2 separate regions of the Homo sapiens genome follow, and region 1 is linked to region 2. Evidence: promoter capture Hi-C in 16 types of primary human blood cells and fetal thymus (Javierre and others, 2016). All regions are on one chromosome and are shown on one strand. Each heading gives the region's core, a stretch centred on a gene start or on the middle of the fragment in contact. The rest is flanking DNA. Distances are from core to core; before and after follow the strand shown.

Region 1 (5,363 bases), core at 1,222-3,721, 330 kb after region 2:
TTATCCTGACTCTCTCTCTGGCTACAAGCCTCAGAGAATCTCTGGCCTAGACTCCAGGGGCCTCTACTCAACACATCCCCTGCACATGTGCTTCTGAGGCGCTGTCTCTGTACACTCCAATGGGACTCAGAGGCTGAGTCCTGGCCTAAGCTGTTCCCTACCGTATCACTGCCATATTTCCCTTCTTCTTCTATGTGGGGGCACTTGTCTGCCTTCCTGGTTCAGCCCTGCCCCGTTCTTCCAATGCCAGTGTGATCTGGCATCGATTTACCCCTCCCCTCCTCAGCACCCTTCCACCGTGGAACAGGGCCTATGTCCCTAGGGGTGCATGTGCCTTGGGCCTGCCTTCTCTCTTAGACTGTGCTCTGTAGGAGTGGAGGGCACACCTGCTCTGTGCTCTAAACCCCAAGCTCCACTCACGGGGATGACAGAATGAACAATTCCTCTCTGCCGCAGATGCCACTTTGAGGGAAGACCGAGTACCCCTGCCACTAGAAAATTGGGCTGGGGGCAGATTCATGGATAGGGCAGGCTATCAGCTTCCAGTGGAGTCAGATCACGGGAGGGGAGGCAGATAAGGTTGGAGTGGGATCTGTGGGGAACAGGCCTCTTACAGTGCATAAGGTGGAACATGGAACACATTTCTGGCAGTGCCTCCCCTGTGTTGGCTCGAGAAGTCCCGTCTGCAAGTGGGGAGCAGGTCAGAGAGGCCTATGTTGACATTTCTCAGGCTGAAGACCAGGCATGTATATCCTTCAACTTTGAAGTCCCTGGAATACAGATATTCTGAGACAACACTCAGGATACCTAAGCCCCATGCTGATAAGGGCCACAGATGGCCTCACTCGGTGTGAGTGGTCCTTATCAGCATGGGTCTTAGGTATCCTGAGTGTTGTCTCACTGTATTTGTGGAGTGACCTACAGTCAGGAGCTATCTCTGAAGTCTGGGCTTCCAGCCACAGGACACCTGGCTCCCTCTATAAAGGCTGTGGAGTGGGCTCTGGCTGGAGCAGTGGCCAGTCTGCAGTCCAGGATGAGGGGCCTTGTGGTATTCCTTGCAGTCTTTGCTCTCTCTGAGGTCAATGCCATCACCAGGTGAGTGTCAGAGCCCAGGGGAGGGCAAGGGCATCTCATCGTCCTCTCTGGGAGGTCTGTCCTTGGTCTTCCAGCCATTGGTCCCCCAGGGAGTCTTGGGAGAAGTGCTGCAAGTTCCCAGGGTAACAGCTCCCTGTCAGTCTTGCCTTTGCATGCTGGGACCTTTGCTTCTGTTTACCCCAGCACTTCACAGTGTGGTGAAAAGAACAGGGAGCCAGATGGGCAACTGGGAGGATAGGGCATGGCTCTGGAGTCAAACTACCTGGGGTTTGATCCCCAGCTCCATCACTAACTTAACTCTCTGTGCCTCAGTTTCCTCCTCTGTTCATAAAATTTGAATAATGGTAGTGTCCATCTCATAGGGATGTTGTGAGGATTATAGGAGTTAATATTTAAAAAATGCTTCAAACGATGCACACTGTAAGAGCTATGTATGCATTTGTTAAACAAAATAAAGTTCCCTATTGTACTAATCCTTTGTGGGTGAAGATCTCAGGTTCTCCTCCCAAAGTAATAACTGACATTGATTGAGCTGTTTGCTCCTAGGTGCTAGGCACTCCACTAAGCCACTAATCCTCATGGATTAAGTACATATTATCATTTGCAATTTACAGATGAGACACTGTTGTTTAGGAAGGGTTCCTAAGGAGGGTCCCTGAGCTGTCCGAGGCTGCATGGCTAGTAATGGAGGAGCTAGGACTTGGCCTCCGTGGATTTGCACTCTTGCCATCACATCACGTGGTAATCTACAGGTGCTCAGGTTTGAGTCTGGTCAAGCCCTGAGCACAGAGAAGCCCCGATTACTCCCTGGGAAAGCTGGATCCCAGAAAAGGGGTCAGGGTGCTTTCAACTGGCCCGGAATCTTTGTGGCAGTCCTGAAAATAAAGTTCCTCCAGGTCCCAGGTGCGCTATCTGCCCCAGCACTTGGGATGTGAACAGCCTGCGAAAATCCATTCTCTCTGTGAGTTTTAACACTGCTGCCATTTATGGCTCTCAAAGCACATCTCAACAGTCTCACAGAGGAGGACCACGTGATTCTTAGAGGTAAAAGGGACTGTGGGAATCACTGAGTTCTACTTCTGTCTATAGGAGAGGAAACTAAGGACCAGAGAGGTTAAGCCATAGGGCTAGTCAAACGCAGGGCCAGGAGAATGGCTGGAAAGGAAGGGGTTAACCTAAGGGAGTTGAAACTCAGAGGGCTTTGGGGAGCCACCCAAGTTGACACAGACAGGGCAGTGCCAGGTCTAGAACCAGTTTCTGCATTTCCTCTCTTGATCTCTTCACTGTTGATCTGCCTCCATCATCTAAAACTCGAGCTCCCTCAGGAGGCCCCTGTGAGACCAGGCTCTGTGCTGAGAAACCGTTTGAGAATTTTCCACTCGTCTTAGGGAAAAAGCTATCCAGAGAGCGGAGAAAGGGTATTGACAGAGGGCAGGATCATTGTCGTAGCATTTGTCAGCTTGTGGGAGACACCGTTTTTCACTGCAGACAGTGGGCTCCCGGCGGGCAGAGACGGTGTCCTTTCCAGTGTTGTGTCCCCTGTGCCCTGTACAGTATCTGGCACAGCAAGAATTTGGTGACTGAATGAGTGATAATGTGCTTAGTGCTTTTCAAACCACGGGTTTCGAAACTTATTAGTGGGTTGCAAAATGCCTCTAATGGGTCTCCACCAGCATTAGAAAAAGAGAAAGCAATATAAAATATGAGAGTGCATTGCAGTTAGCAAGGATAGGCATTGATTTTTGAACCGATATAAAATACATTTCTTACTTTGAGTTATGATTTAAAAAAAGTTTGAAAGCCCTTGACCTGGGGTCAGTGGGCCATTGATCAGAAGGCTGGCTGGGAACAGAGTGTACCGAGTGGTTTATGGAGCCCACTTCTGGGAGGCTGGGCAGCCTGCGGGAGATGCACACCCTCCTTACAAATTCTTCCCCATCTCCTCAGGGTTCCTCTGCACAAAGGGAAGTCGCTGAGGAGGGCCCTGAAGGAGCGCAGGCTCCTGGAGGACTTCCTGAGGAATCACCATTATGCAGTCAGCAGGAAGCACTCCAGCTCTGGGGTGGTGGCCAGCGAGTCTCTGACCAACTACCTGGATGTGAGTGGCTCTGCCAGCCTTTCCACTAACGAAGTGGAAAGCGCCCCTCGGCCCCTGCCTCACCACAGCTGTTTCTCTTCGAGAAATCTTGGAGTCTGTGGTAGAGGCAGTCTCCCTGCCCTCAGTCAGCTCCACGAGGGGCTGGTCGACCCAGAAAAGACAGTGCTCCTGCCTGCCAGCTCTGAATGCCACCACCAGGAGGGTCTGAGCTCAGGCGCCTTCCTCACACAACATCCCCCAAGAGTGCATGAACTGCCCCCCTCCCCAACGCCGCCTACCATCCCAACCCTGCACCTGCCTTCCGGGCTGGGGAAGTTCTGTCTTAGTCTGGCTCAGCAGGGATGGAGACAGCGGGTGCCATTCTGCAGCTGCCCAGGACGCGGCTGCCAGCTTGCTCTTCCTCCCACCCAGGACCCAGGCAGGAGCGCCCCTGGTACCTGTTCTTTCCTGGAGCTTGTCTTTCTCTCAGCCGTCACTCTTGCCAGTAAACAACCAGCCTTTTTTCTCTTCTGTGCTCTCATTTTCTTATCTAGGTCATCTTCGCCACCCGCCCCCAGCCTCTGCTCTGACAGTGGGGAGAGCTGGCGAGGAGGCGCGCGTGGCAGGGGCCACTTGGGCCGGAACATGGAGCCCACACCTAGCTGATGCCCCACCTCTCTGTCCAGATTCTTTTTGCCCTGGCAGGGGTGGCCCATGTCCCACCCAGGCAGGATTTAAGTTTAGGACCCAGGTCTGCTTCTGAGGCTGATTCCAGCAGTGGTTGTAGGACTTGTGGAAGGATGAGGCCAAGTGTGTCTGGGGGTGGGAGCCCAGGTGAGGGCTGGAGGTCAAGAACCCTCTTCAGTATCTTCCCCCTCCTTGAGACACCCAGGTCTCTGGGCAGAAAGCACAGGGGCTCCACAAGTGCCCCTGCTCCCCGCCCACCGTTAATCCACACCCTCCTGCCCCCTGATGCTCCCACCTCTGACCCAGTGCCGTCTGTCTTCAGTGTCAGTACTTTGGGAAGATCTACATCGGGACCCTTCCCCAGAAGTTCACCTTGGTGTTTGATACAGGCTCCCCGGATATCTGGGTGCCCTCTGTCTACTGCAACAGTGATGCCTGTCGTGAGTGACCGCCCTCTCCTGACCCAGCCCCTCATGCTTGGATGCCCTGGCCTAGTGGCCAGGGTGGTCAGGGTGGCTGGGGGGAAACGTGGGGTGGCAGGACAGCTGGCTCTGACCTTCCCAGCCTCCTAGTTGTGGTCGATCTCCTCACTCATCCTCCCAACTGGCCACAGACTGGGAAGATTTGAAAATCACGGGTTTTAGTTAAAAATTAGGGACCTTTATTTTATTTTTTGTCTCTACTGGGAGCCAAGGCAACCTGCTTACCCTTTTGGATGCTGAATTTTCCTTTCTATAAAATGGGGCTATGATGTGCCAGTGAGTGCTGGGAGAGTAAAGTGAGAAGGTCTATTACAAATAATGAATACATGCTTAACACACATTAATTATTTATTTCTCCACCAATCCTGGGAGATTGGTGCTCTTTTTATCCCCATTTGACAGATGGGGAAATTAAGGTTTGAAGAGGAAAAGGGACTTGGCTAAGATTACTCAGCTGATAAAAGCAAAACATCCACGGAATCTTCAGCGGGGCTTTTCCCTTTCATTTTTGTGTAGAAGCTACGTAGGTAGCACTGAAAGTCAGAGAGGTAGGGCAAGCAACAAAGAATCATGTTCTTTTTTAAACTGTGGGACCAAGGCTTTAGAAAGAATGGGCTGCTTATTCTCTATAGAGAGAATTGCCAGTATTGAGGCCATATTCTTACAAGGCCTGCTGAGGGGTTCGGCCCTGGCTGGCACCGTGAGTGGTGAGAAGATTCTAAGGGCCCCACTAACTCTGGGTCTGTGTTTCAGAAAACCACCAACGCTTCGATCCGTCCAAGTCCTCCACCCACAGAACATGGGCAAGTCCCTGTCCATCCAGTATGGCACAGGCAGCATGCGGGGCTTGCTGGGCTATGACACTGTCACCGTAAGTGGTGCTGCGCCGGCCAGTGCTCACTGTGCCTTTCCCACCAGCCACTCTCTGCCCACACGGTCCGGTGGGCCACACCTCCACTGTGCTGAGAAGCCCTTTAGGTGCTGCCTGCCCTGGTGGCTCAGGAGGTAAGGAGAGGGATTTT
Region 2 (5,483 bases), core at 2,733-5,232:
CATGGTGAACTCTGTTGGACGAGTGGGCAGGCAGTGAGGGAAGAGAACAAGGGGGACTGAGCAGATCCCTGTCAGGGCTTATGGGCTAAAGTCTGAGTCAGGAAGGAGTGGGGGGGGTAGGAAGAGCTGAAAGAAGGGTGGTGTATTACAGGGAAGTCCATGGGGGGAAGGGTGTGAGATGAGGCTGGAGACAGGGAAGGTCCCTGAAAGACATGCTAAAGATGTGGGTGCAACTCTGCAAGCTTAAAAAGGTTGTGATTATATTTGTACTTCTAAAAGATCACTCTTGCTGCTATGTGGAGAGAAGGGAGTAAGACTGGAGTTAGTGTCAAGAGGGGACTGTGAGTCCAGGTGAGTGATTATTATAGTTTGGAATAGGCAGTTGGGGGCGGGAGGTGGTGGCAGCAGAATTAAAGAGAAACGACCAGATCCCAGAGGTATGTAGCAACTAAGATCTCCAGGATTTACTGATAGATTTTATGAAAGGGGAAGTCTCAAGGGTGATTATTGGGGTTTTGGCTGGCTCAACTATTCACAGAGCCAGGGAGCACAGGAGGAGAAGCAAGAAGCCAACTGCTGAATGTTCTGCAGGGTAGATCTTTGAATGTTGAGTTCATTTCTTCAACATGTGTAGCTCTGTGGAGCCAAGTGGAAAGGTGGAGTTGGAGGGTGAATATGTGGAGCTCAGAAGACTGTCTGGAATGGAGACAGACATGCAGAAGTCATCAGTGTAGGAGATGGTCTAGGAAGGGTACAGAGTGAGAAGAGGGTTTGGCTGCGAGACGTCCAACACTTAAAGATCAGCAACGGAAACTGAGGGGTGAGCAGAAGGCTAGGAGGAAAACCTGGGAGCGCAGAATTCCAGAAGGGGAGGGAAGAGAGTGTCAGAAGGAAGGAGAGGGCACCCACAATAAGCATTACAGAAAGGTCAGTAAGATGAGGACTGGAAGATGTCCTGTGGATTTAGTGACACAGAAGTCACTGGTGACCTTAGTGAGACCCTTCTTGGCAGCATGATGGGGCAGAAGTGTGTTAAGGAGTGTGTAGGGGTGAGGAAATGGAGGCAGAAAATGAAGAAATGAGGGATGAGAGCCTAGTGACATTTTTTTTTGAGATGGACTCTAGTGACATTTTAAAGGAAGATATTTGCATATGCTCTCGAGCTGCTAAAAAGCATCCAGAGAAAGGGAAAGTTAATGAGACAGACAGGAGAGACTGGATTAACTAATGGGTAGCTGAGGTTCTCAAGAAGGTGTGGGGCCATGGGACCCAGGGGACAGGTGGAGGCTGGTCTACAGAGGAGAGACTCTCCCTACCATATCCAGGGAAGAGGGAGAAGAGGGTATGTGCAGATGGAAACGGTTTAATTCTCGTTGGAAAACCGAGGGGTCTTCCAAATGAAGTAAGGCAGTTCCTGAGACAGCAGGGAAGTATGACGTGGGGGGAAAGTAGGATGAGTGTTTGGGGAGAGTTCTGGTTGGAATGGCCTTGATCAGAGTGGGGAAGTAAGTTGACCAGAGAATTACAGGGAAGTCCTTAGGAAGTGTGAGGAGCCCACTTGAAGTTGGTGGCCATGAAGGCAGACAGAGACTGGTCTGTGGTGTGTTTCTGTCTAGAGAACTTGGCACAAAGAAACCAGGTATTAAGTTCATTCAAGGGTGGGGTTTCACTGGGTAGATGTGATAAAAGGCAGTGAGGCAAGGGCATCTTCTAGTTGTCACCTTGATATCCCACAGACATGTCATTTTCAATATGTCCCAAATCCATTATCTCTTTACCTTCTTCCCCAAATCTGCTCCTCTTTCTAAATTCCCCATCTTGGTTAATAACAATACAATCACCTAGTAATACCCCTAATAACAGTTATTTATTAAGAACATGTTATCAGATATGATAACAGATATTTTACTATTTTTTTTTTTTTAGAGAAGAGCACTTGCTATGTTGCCCACGCTGGGCTTAAGCAATTCTCCCAACTTGGCCTCCCAAAGTGCTGGGATTGCAGCTGTGAGCCACCGTGCCTGGCCAATAACAGATATTTTAGAACAATCATCTCATGATCATCATAACAACCTTATGAGGTATGTACCATTCATTTTACAGACACGGAAACAGAAGTTCAGAGAGGTTGTGTCACTAGCTCAAGGTCTCTAGTAAATGGCAGTCAGGATGAAAACTTAGATCTATGAGGCTCCAAAGTCCTTCCCCTTTCCATGACCACACCACCTGTAAGTTCTCTTGCCTTAATACTGCCTATCTCTGATAGGTTCCTTCCTCCCACCTCCCATACCACGTCAATTGTCACATTCTATTTGTTCATCTCTGTCCTGTCTCTTGCTACTTCCTGCCATGCCACTCCACCCCATCTGCTTCCCTGGTTGCTTCCACCAGAATGTAAACCCTATAAGGGCAGAGATTATTATCTGTCTCATTTTTTGCTGTCTCCTTAGGGCCTGGAACAGTGTAAAGTAACCATTAGGCTCACTAAATAATTGTTGAAAGAATTTTTCTATCAGGAGATAATTCTCTATGGGTTTATTGTGTTCCCACAAGTCTTGTGGGCAGAGGCACTGATGGCTTTTTTGTTCCCATTATCTTTTAGAGGATGGTTGCATAGCAAACAGCCTCCAACGATAGCGTCTCCCTCTAGTGGAGAGCAGTTCTGTTTGCTGTCCAGTATAATAAAGATATGTCTAAGGCAAATGTCGGGCAAGTTTGCTTGCAGCGCATTATAAAAGATTGAGGTTTCCTAAGCTTGGAGTTTCTCAGTGTGTGTGGTCCAGTCTCATGTCCCACCCATAGGACTTCAGAGTTAAGGGAAGGTGATCTGAATGTGAAGCTCTTGCAGCCTGCTGTGCCATGAGTAATTAAAGTCCTTTGTGTCTGGCCCAGAGTTTCCTGTCTTCTGATGGCATCCATGAAACTGGCAGGGTAACTTAGATTGTAAGTGTAAAATCTCAGACTCTTCAGAGTTCTTGACAATGGCCCTTACCACCTTTCACTAAGACAACCTCCATCTCCCATTCCTCCCAAACACCTCCCTTGGATGCCAAAGGCCCCCTTAGTGTTCCCTAGAAGAGAGATAATTCATCCAGACTCTCATAACAGCCCCCCAAGGCCCTGGCAGGATGGCTCCTGCCTCCCTGTCTAACTTCACCTCTCATCATCCCCACCCCTGCTCCAGCTCAGGCAACCACCACCCCACCCCACGCATACGTTTCTACTCTCTTGCATCTATGCCCTTGCCATGCTGTCCACTCCACAGGGGTCATCCTTCTCCCCTTCTGACTGTCCATCCTTTAGGCCAGGATCTTCCAAGAGGCCTACTCAGAGACCAGTCAGAATTTCCCTGTCACTGTCTCCCCACTTTACTCATCTTGTACGGTTCTCCAATCCTTTCGCTTTGTACTGTAAAGACCTGGGTCAACCCACACTGCCTCTCCAGGAGGTTCCCTCACGTCTGTGATCCTTTCAGCCTCTGCAGCCCCTGGCATACAGTAGGTGCTCAACAGATGAGTGATGTCCTAAGAGTTGACCTGCACAGGGAACGGCCTTGCAGAATGGTAGGATGGAAGGACGGAGGAGTGGAAGGACATCTAGAGGAAAGGGAACAGAAGCACGGAGGTGGAAATGTCTAGGGCAGGGGAAATAACCACATGAATTGAGATTGAGTTCATTAAAGAAGGCCAAAAGAGGTGAGTCTGAAAAGAAGAAAGTGAGGCCCAGGGTCCAGGAGGGCTTTAACCATTGGGGCCCCATTCCTCTCCGAGGGCAGAAGCCCTGGCGAGGGCTCCAGGGTCTGCATCCCCTGACCAGGGGCCTCAAGAAGCTAAGCCCCCTTGCAACTCCCTCTCCCGCCCCACGCCCACCCTCTCCGCCTACGTCGGCCATCAGAGCCTCGCTCGCTGCCCGAGAGCCTCGCATTGACGCCGGCCCGCGCGTGAGTCAAGCCTGCGTCACGGCGCCCCGCCGCCAGGGTGGCCTTTCGGAAAGCGAGGGAACAGTGCGCGCAGCGCTCCGCCCAGCTCCGTTCTGCTCCGCAGAGCCGGCGCTGCCAGGGCGCAGGGAGGGCGGCACTCGGCCCCAGTCTTCGCAATCCCGCGCGCTCTCTCCGCCGTGGGACCTGGGTCCCCGCGCCGCTCCCCTGAGCCCCGAGCGCGCGGCGGGCGGGAGCCAGGTTGGGACTGGTGGTGAGGCAGGGAGTGAGGAGCGAGCGGAGTCGCGTGCGCCGGCGCGCAGCTCCGGGTCGCCCCAGCCCCAGCCGGGGGCCTGTGGCCCGGGGGAGGAGCTGTGCGTCCGCGACCCGTCGGGGATCGCAGCTGCTCGGCCGGAGTGCACGGGCCGAGTCTGCGCGACTACCCACGCGTGACAGGTGAGTCGCTGGCCGCGCCCCGCCTGGCTTTACCGGGCCGGCCACTGCAACTTTCCCTGTTCTGGCCCCGCCCCAGCCAGGGAGGGCTGAGGACCAAGGTGTGAGGCGGCGCTGCCCCCGCATCCGCCCGACCCTGCGCTCGTCCCGGGCTCCTCTCGCCGCTCCAGCCGCCGTTGCCTGGCGACGGAGCCCCGGGGCCCGCTCTCCTTCGCGCATCGGGGTCCCCAGCGGCGTACGCACGGGTTGGACACCGGGCTTCAGCTTCTGGTGCTCAGAAGGGCCCAAGAACTCCGGAGGAAATTGGGCTTAGCTGCGGAGGCAAGCGCCCGCGGAGAACCGGAGGGGGCCTGTCCGGCCCATCCGCGGCTTGAAACTGCGCGCCCAGGGCGCAGTTCCACTGGGAGCCTCTTACGCAGCTGGAGACCCCAGCCCCAGCCGCTCGGCCTCAGGCCTGTGACCTTGACAGTAACATTGGCAAGCGAAGCAGAACTGTCACGCCCGAGATGAATATTTAATTCTCAGTCCTGGGGCTGGTCCTCGCTGGATTCGGAGCTAGCAGAGAGCCCTTCCTCCCTCGTGGGAAGCGCATCTGGGGAACGGAATGGCTGAGACAGGGGACGTGCGTGTGGTGCCCATCTGGAGGGGGCGCCGTCCTGGCGGGTCGAGAGGCCTCTGCTGCATTTATGCCTGTGTGCGCCGTGCTCTGAAGCGATGCTGGATGCTCGCAGTACTATGGGTGGGCCGCTCCCCAGGGGCGCGGCTGCCTTGGAAAGAAGCGTGATGTTTCCTTTTAAAGCCCAGACAGCCCTGTCAGAAATCAAATTCAGAAATCCCAAGGCCATTCACCTTACAGGACCTAGGCCCTGTCAAGTTGGCTTTAGAAAATATTTTTTGATGCCATTCCTCTTTCCTTTTTTTTTTTAAGAAATACTTTAACAGGCCTTTTGGATTACGAGATTTCTAACCAGAGCTACCTTTGGGCAATTCAGCTGTGAACTTGAGGCAGATGGGGGTGGGTTGGGGAGACAGGGAAGTGGTAATGAGGAGGAAGATTCTTTTCCGGGCATTGTCCTTGTTAACAGGAACTTCAGGAACAAAGACAATCCTGTAA

What was found. The method cuts DNA at HindIII sites, captures the fragments that hold promoters and counts their contacts. A CHiCAGO score of 5 or more calls a contact.
Region 1: a fragment that was not itself captured here is called in contact with the fragment with the promoter of SLC6A17 in region 2 in 1 of 17 cell types (neutrophils); the score reaches 5.3 in neutrophils.

Annotation. Positions count from the first base shown.
Region 1 is chr1:110,479,733-110,485,095 of GRCh38, forward strand. It overlaps the pseudogene CYMP. Among named protein-coding and RNA genes, the nearest start is that of CYMP-AS1, 7.8 kb to the right of the region's middle. RefSeq lists an enhancer at 3,547-4,125. The HindIII fragment of the contact is 7,718 bases long and covers 1-5,363 here.
Region 2 is chr1:110,146,512-110,151,994 of GRCh38, forward strand. SLC6A17 (solute carrier family 6 member 17) reads left to right here and starts at 3,983. Exons shown (of 12, transcript NM_001010898.4): 1 at 3,983-4,372. RefSeq lists a silencer at 3,978-4,027. The HindIII fragment of the contact is 4,529 bases long and covers 2,753-5,483 here.